2 separate regions of the Homo sapiens genome follow, and region 1 is linked to region 2. Evidence: promoter capture Hi-C in 16 types of primary human blood cells and fetal thymus (Javierre and others, 2016). All regions are on one chromosome and are shown on one strand. Each heading gives the region's core, a stretch centred on a gene start or on the middle of the fragment in contact. The rest is flanking DNA. Distances are from core to core; before and after follow the strand shown. Region 1 overlaps LOC105373757 (a long non-coding RNA gene). Region 2 holds the start of HOXD-AS2 (HOXD cluster antisense RNA 2).

Region 1 (3,496 bases), core at 559-3,058, 690 kb after region 2:
ATTTGTATTCAAGCAGCCATAGAAGTTGGAAGGTGTTCAGTGAGTAGCCCTAAAACGGAGCTCCTTAAGTATGGACCAGCAGATCAGTATCACCTGGGAACTCATTAGTAATGCAAATTTTGGGGTCCTGCCCTGGACTTACTGAATTAGGATCTCCAGGATCCGCTAAGGAGTCATTGGTTTAACAAGCCCTCCAGGTGAATCTGATGAATGCTAAAGTTGGAGAGCCCCTGCCTTAAAAGAAGTGAATTTGTGGGAAGTCAAAGGAGTAATTGACTTCCAGGGAAGTCTTCTAGAAGAAATTGGCTTTTGAGGTTTGGCCCTTTAAGACTGTTAAGATTCAGACACCTGGAGAGGAGTGGCAGGCATCCCAAGAGTAAAGACAATGTGAGCAGAGACCCAAATCCAGAAAGGCACAGGGGGTCTGGAAACAGCAAGGACTTCCATGTGGCCAGTGTCCAGGATGGCTGGAGAGGAGTTGCTGGCAGTCAAATTTCAAATAATAACAACAACAACTTGTATTGATCCCCTATGGTGTGCCATGAAGATTTCTAGATGCTTTATTTACAAGAATTCCTTTATTCTATTCCCATAACCCTATTAAAGAGAAAGTGTTATTAGATGATCCCCATTTAAAGATCAAGAAACTGGCAGGGCGCTGTGGCTCATGCCTGTAATCCCAGCACTTTGGGAGGCTGAGGCAGGCGGATCACTTGAGGCCAGGAGTTTGAAACCAGCTTGGCCAACATGGAGAAACCCTGTCTCTACGAAAAATACACAATTTAGCCGGGCATGTTGATGTGCACCTGTGATCTCAGCTACTCAGGAGACTGAGGAAAGAGAATCGCTTGAACCTGGGAGGTGGAGGTTGCAGTGAGCCGAGATAGCGCCACTGCACTCCAGCCTGGGTGTCAGAGCGAGACTCCATCTCAAAAAAGGAAACAAAAAAAGAAGATGAAGAAACCAAGGCTTAGAGAAAGTAACTAAACTGTCCAAATCACACAATTTGGGTTTGAATTTTCACAGCAATAAGGATATAAGTTGAGCTTTGAGCTTGGCAGCTGCAAGCTTAGAGCTTGACTTTAGGGCAATTTGGGAGCCATCTAGGGGTGGTTGACAGGCAAAACAGACGGTTGGCAAGGAGACCAGTGCGGCAGCCATAACCCAGAAGAGAGATAATGAGAGTGAGGATTACAATTAGGGACAGGGGCATGAAAAGGAAGGGGCAGATTCCAGATAGTGCAGGGTCAGAGGAGCAGGACTTGACCAGCAATAAAATGGAAGGGACAAAGGAGAGGCTGGGGTCAAAAGTCTCCTGGGAGCTTAGTCTGGGAGGAAGCTGGAGTCATTAACTGAAGCAGAGAACAACAATAATGACAACAAATAGATCATCCTCTTCTTCATATTGGATTTTATTTATCACACACTTATATACCAGGTACTGTTCTAAGTGCTTTACATAGATCAGATCATTTAACTTTTACAACAGCCTCCAGAGGTAGTTACTATTATTCTTCCCATCTTACGGTTCAGAAAACTGAGGCACAGAGAATTTAAATAACTTGCCCAGGACCACGTAGTATAGCCTTCCTCGTCTACTCTTGCTGTAAAATAGCACTGGCATCTTGTCAGGGATTGGAATTCCTCAAAATGATTCAATTATGTTTCTTCCAAACTTGGAAACAAACAGAACTGTAGCCAAGTAAAGCAACAGGTTAATGAATCCAGTAGTTCTCAATCTTCCCCATGCACTAGTATCACCTGTGGTGCTTTACAAACTTACCAGTGCGGGGATCCCACATCCAGAGATCAGGATTGTGTTGGTCTAGGCTGATGCAGCATTTGTTGGTTTGCTCGTTTATTGTTTAAAGCTCCCCAGGTGTTTAATGTACACATAGCACTGAGTCTACTGAATAAATCAATTGACAAGCAAGCATTTGTTGCTTACCTACTAGGTGGTAAGTGCTGTGCTCCATGCAGTGGTAGATTCCAAAGGTGATCAAGATACACCCCAGCCCTCAGAATTGATATCTTCCAGGATTTGCATAAGGCTAAGGAAAAAGAAGCAATTTGGGAGCAGAGCAGAGGTGGTGAATTTAGCTAGTGACCCAGAATTAATCCTTGGAGCTTGCTAGGAGAAATAGGGAGTACTGGAGAAGAACAGTGTTTTCACTAAATAAAACAGATAAAGAAAACTCCAGAGGTTGCTGGGTAAAATTATCCCTTCACTTTGGAGGTCAACTGGTGTAGACCAATTTGTCATCCTCTGTCTCCTTTCTATGCAATAGGAACTCTGAATGGCCTGTGTATCCAGGCACAGATCAGGCCCTGGCGCCAAACCACCAATGGCAAGGCATATCTTTTTTTGGGCCAATGGGGAAAAAAGGAAAACATTTCAGCTGCTGCTAAGTCCCAGTGTCTTTATTTGAACTTCCCTGGAACAGGCAAGTTAGTGATATTTATGGCTTACAAGAATTTCCATCTTTAAGTTTATCTTCTTGTTAAAAATCAGCCATCCCTCTACCCAAAACAACTGAAGACAATAAATCAAAGCTTAAATAAGAATCAAAGACTTATCTCTCCATGTAGGAATCCCTATAGTTGCTAACATACTATATTTTACTATCAGGCATCATAAGAGGTTAAGTGATTGGGAGGCAGGGACGAGCTTCCCTTCAACTGGGTGTGCAGAAGCCATGGAAATGAGACCAGACGTTGTCCAAACTAAGGGAGGAAGAGCTGGGCTAGCATTTTCCAATGAATTCCAGCACCTCATGCCACACTTACCTCTCCCAAATGACGCACACTGTGCTGTTGTTATTCTTAACTGATTCTGCCAATTGATGACTACACTCTCCAATCTGGTTCCTTTCCCTTTTGCAGAAACAGTGGTGTCAAAACAAGCCTGTCTCATTTCTGAATACTGAACGGATGTACCATTCTATCACTGTCAGCGAGGGAATGACAGCGGAGTTTGGCAGCAGCCTTAAGCCAGTGCCATAAGCTGCTGATATTGTAGCAAAATGTAAAAGAGGTACTATTTGGTGCCCACTGGCCTGCTCTGTGCTCTTGTTGTCCACACCTGTGTTCAAGTGCAGTGTTAGTGACAGGTCCAGACAGTGGCCATTCTACCCTAACACCCAAGTTGTTCCCATGGCCCACCTACCACGCATTGCCCGAGTTGGGGGTGACATTTACTTACTGCTCAAAAGCAGCCTTTTTCACAGATACAGTAGAAGGGGCCCATGGAAGTAGGCCTTTTACTACCAAACATGTTTACTGATCAAGTTACCACATTGTCCAAAAATTTTCTTTTCTGAAGAATTTCTGAACATATTTTTTCTGAAAAATCTTGATCAGTGTTTTCTTTTGGAAAAACGTGGGAGGACTGCTCACTCCCTCAGAACTTCTCTTTTAAAATGCAGTTAATCTTTGGAATTTAAGTTCTACATCTTAATGCACTTTTATTATTTATTCCCCATCACACAGAAAGTTT
Region 2 (3,571 bases), core at 830-3,329:
CAAAGTTAGGGCCCATTGGCTTTTTTCTAGAAAGAATATGACTTTTGCTGACAGATGGCAGCAAAAGTCCTTTAATCAAAAACATCCAAGGTCATCAGAACTTTTTCAAGGGATAACAAATGGCCTGCTCCAGAGGGTGCTGTGCTGCTTCCTGCTTCAGTCCACATCCACTTAGGCACTTACTGGGTGTGCAGATGTTAATAGCAGAGAACTTATACACAGGTATCTGATGCAAACATTTGTAACATAGTACTGGAAGTGTAAAGACACTGTCTTTAAAAGGATGGGGGGTGGTGTTACCTCTTTCAGGAAGGTTCTGAAGGCTGCATGGCTATGCCCATGAGGGGAATGCTGGAGGCCAGCCAAGGACATTTACTTTCAGGGGGAGTTCACCAGAGCAGTTCCTGTGAAAAATATAAAGGGAATGTGACACCGGCCTTTGAGGAAAAGGAATTATTCTTTTTTCTAGGCTGATCTGAGGAAGTCACTCTTTTCCTGAACAAATGTCTTTTCAGTATTGCGTTGAACAAATTTTTCAATTGGGAAATATTTGGGGGCAAGGGGAGAGGGGAGAACTAGAATTAAACTCCATAAAAATGAGAATTGCTCTTAGAGGAGGACGTAGAGCAAGGAGTTTCAGAAGGGATCCAGAAACCATAACCCTGTCTGTCCAGAAAGATGTTTCTGTGGAGAAAGACCAGGTGGTAGAGTTTCAAACGGGTATTTCGGAGAGGTTGACAAGTACCTAAAACCATTTGAAGCCTTTAAGCTGGTTGGTGATTATCCTACTGCAGAACCTCCCGGGAATGGGAGGGACCCCAATTTATGTTGGAGTGGTGTGTTGGGGGCACATTTTCTTGGCCTGCAGATCCCTCGTTTTCTTCCCAAGGTAACTGGGGCTGGCTTGCAAGATGAGAGGGAGGAGGGGAAACCGAAAGTGGTTGGCTGCCTCTGGGGACAGGCCTTTTCCTGAGGGGAGAGGAGGAGAAGCCAAGTGACTAGCACAGGGTGAGAGATGGGAGGAGGTAGCTGTGGGGATCGCTTCCCCAGAGCGTGAGCAGTACATTGAGTTCATTTCCCTCCTTCACGATGGCCAACTGCGCAGAGGTTTTGAGCCAAACCAAAGAAAAGAACACACACACACACACACACACACACACACACACACACGCACACACACAAATAAATCCTAGAAAAAGAAACAGAGGAGGCGGGGAGGGAGGGAAGAACCACGAAGGGAAGAAAAAGGGAAAGGTGAAGAGGGACAGAGAAAGAGAAGGGAGGAAGGAGAGAGAGAATGGAGAGAGAGAGGAGGAGGAGAAGGAAGAGAGGAGGCGGGGGAGAGAGAAAGCAGAAGAGGAAAAAACATGGCGCTTGCGAGCTGTATGTGCAAAATCCGCAAGGAATTGCAGTAAATTCCTTTTTGTTTGAAGAAAATTTACAACTTGGTAATAGACCTTTTTATGACCTATTTGCGGTCGTCATTGGCTGCGGCTGGTCATGTGCAGGCGCCGCTCGCCTTCACGGCCTTTTTCCTGATTTCCCCGGCGAATTTCCCCCCGCATTCTGCTTTCCCAGAGCCTCACCCCCTCTTTTTCTAACCTTTGTCTCTGCAGAGGTGGGCTCCAGTCACCGGCTGCGGGATTGCGGAGTCCGCCGCGGCCTCGGCTCCCGCCCGGCGCCCGGCCTGGCCCCACCGCCGCTCACTCGGTCCGCATCGCCGCCACCTCCGGAGCTGGTGGGGAGCCCGGCGAGGGAGGGCCTGGAAGGGGCCCTGGGCGCCGAGTCCCCCGCCGGCGCCGACACCGCCTGCCAGGAGCAGCCGGCCTGCTCGAGGTGACTGCAGCCGCGCGGTTCTGGCGCGGCTTCTTCACCAACATGAGCGGGTCTCTGCGTCCGAGAGTGAGCGCAGCCGGGCAGCGCCTAGTGGATTACAGCAGACGCCCGGACCGACCGCCGCCTGTAGCTCGGCAGCCTTCGGGTAAGAATCGCCCCCTCCCCGCTCCCCAGCATGCCACCAAGAAGCCTGGGGCGCCGACCCCCTTGGGCAGCTCAGTCCGGCTGCTCCCCTACATTTCCCGGGGAAGTGGGGGGTCGCTGTCTAAGCCCCTTCCCCCAATCACTTCGTTCCTAGGGCGTCCCCTGGGGCCTGGGGTGGAGTCCGGCTGGGTTCAGAAGTCTAAGGGGGCAGTATTATTTCAAAAATTCTGAGATACGGGTAGCCACAGACAGGATCCCACTGCCTAGATGGAGAGCCCCTCAATCCTACCCTAGGAAAGTGTATAGACGGGTTACTACTGAACATCTCCACTTTGCTGGGGGTCACTAAAGGCATTTTATATAGAGCTGTGGTTTTTGTGGTTTACCTGTGGCCGTGGCCAGAGGTTCCTGGGAGGCTAACAGGTGTTTTTTGAGGGTTGGGGCTTGGGTGGGGGTGGGGTGAATTCTCTGTTTCTAGGATGTGCTTGGTGTTTGAATCTAGGCTTTAGTGACTGATGCTGGTTAATTTCTAGGGTTGATGGTTTATTGGGCCTTGTGTTGTATGAGATGGAATTTTAAATATTTTTAAATGTTTCTCTAGTTCTTAGAGAAATTTTTAAGCAACTCAAGATAGGCTCTTCCCGCATATGATAATCCGTCAGGTGAATTTGGATTCTTTTATATCACAAAATGAATCCATGTTTTGGGAGGTAATGGTATCAGAATATATGGTGCAGGTCTTGGTAAAAACCCAATAGATCTTTGAGAAATACAAGACATCTCTGTGTTGAAACATCGTGTGTTTCTTATTTGCCAGAGTAGGAAAAGAGTAGATCTTTTTGCTCTCTAAATGTATTGATGGGTTGTGTTTTTTTTCCCACCTGCTAATAAATATTACATTGCAACATTCTTCCCTCAACTTCAAAACTGCTGAACTGAAACAATATGCATAAAAGAAAATCCTTTGCAGAAGAAAAAAAGCTATTTTCTCCCACTGATTTTGAATGGCACTTGCGGATGCAGTTCGCAAATCCTATTGCCTATTCCCTCATGAACATTGTGAAATGAAACCTTTGGACAGTCTGCCGCATTGCGCATGAGACTGCCTGCGCAAGGCAAGGGTATGGTTCCCAAAGCACCCAGTGGTAAATCCTAACTTATTATTCCCTTAAAATTCCAATGTAACAACGTGGGCCATAAAAGAGTTTCTGAACAAAACATGTCATCTTTGTGGAAAGGTGTTTTTCGTAATTAATGATGGAATCATGCTCATTTCAAAATGGAGGTCCACGATTTGTGGCCAGCTGATGCCTGCAAATTATCCTGGATCACTAACTCTGATCACTTACAAATAAGAAACTTGAGTGATTGTTATTTTATTTGGAGTGTTTGTATTTTGTAATTATTTCTCTACTACAGTACAATGACCTTTGAGGTCATTCTTTGATCGGGGTAAAAAACATTCCCCATTGAAAAGCAGGCACCTGGATAGTGGCTTCTAGGCCCTGCCAGGTAGATTCGGAGCAGGAAGAGTCCCTAGGTCGGATGGTACCCGGGTGGGTGTGGGGGTGTGGCCCTGATGGCCAAGCTC

What was found. Contacts are between HindIII fragments. The CHiCAGO score rates a contact against its expected background, and 5 or more counts as called.
Region 1: a contact is called between a fragment that was not itself captured here and the fragment with the promoter of HOXD-AS2 in region 2, in 1 of 17 cell types (naive CD8 T cells). The highest score is 7.8, in naive CD8 T cells.

The regions. Positions count from the first base shown.
Region 1 is chr2:176,829,448-176,832,943 of GRCh38, forward strand. LOC105373757 (a long non-coding RNA gene) reads right to left here. Exons shown (of 4, transcript NR_187998.1): 3 at 1,949-2,051; 4 at 1,395-1,692. Among named protein-coding and RNA genes, the nearest start is that of LINC01117, 190 kb to the left of the region's middle. The HindIII fragment of the contact is 1,485 bases long and covers 1,067-2,551 here.
Region 2 is chr2:176,135,019-176,138,589 of GRCh38, forward strand. It overlaps HOXD-AS2 (HOXD cluster antisense RNA 2), which reads right to left and starts at 2,080. Exons shown (of 3, transcript NR_038435.1): 1 at 1,603-2,080; 2 at 301-404. LOC401021 (a long non-coding RNA gene) reads left to right here and starts at 1,594. Exons shown (of 2, transcript NR_148241.1): 1 at 1,594-1,981. The HindIII fragment of the contact is 4,739 bases long and covers 1-3,571 here.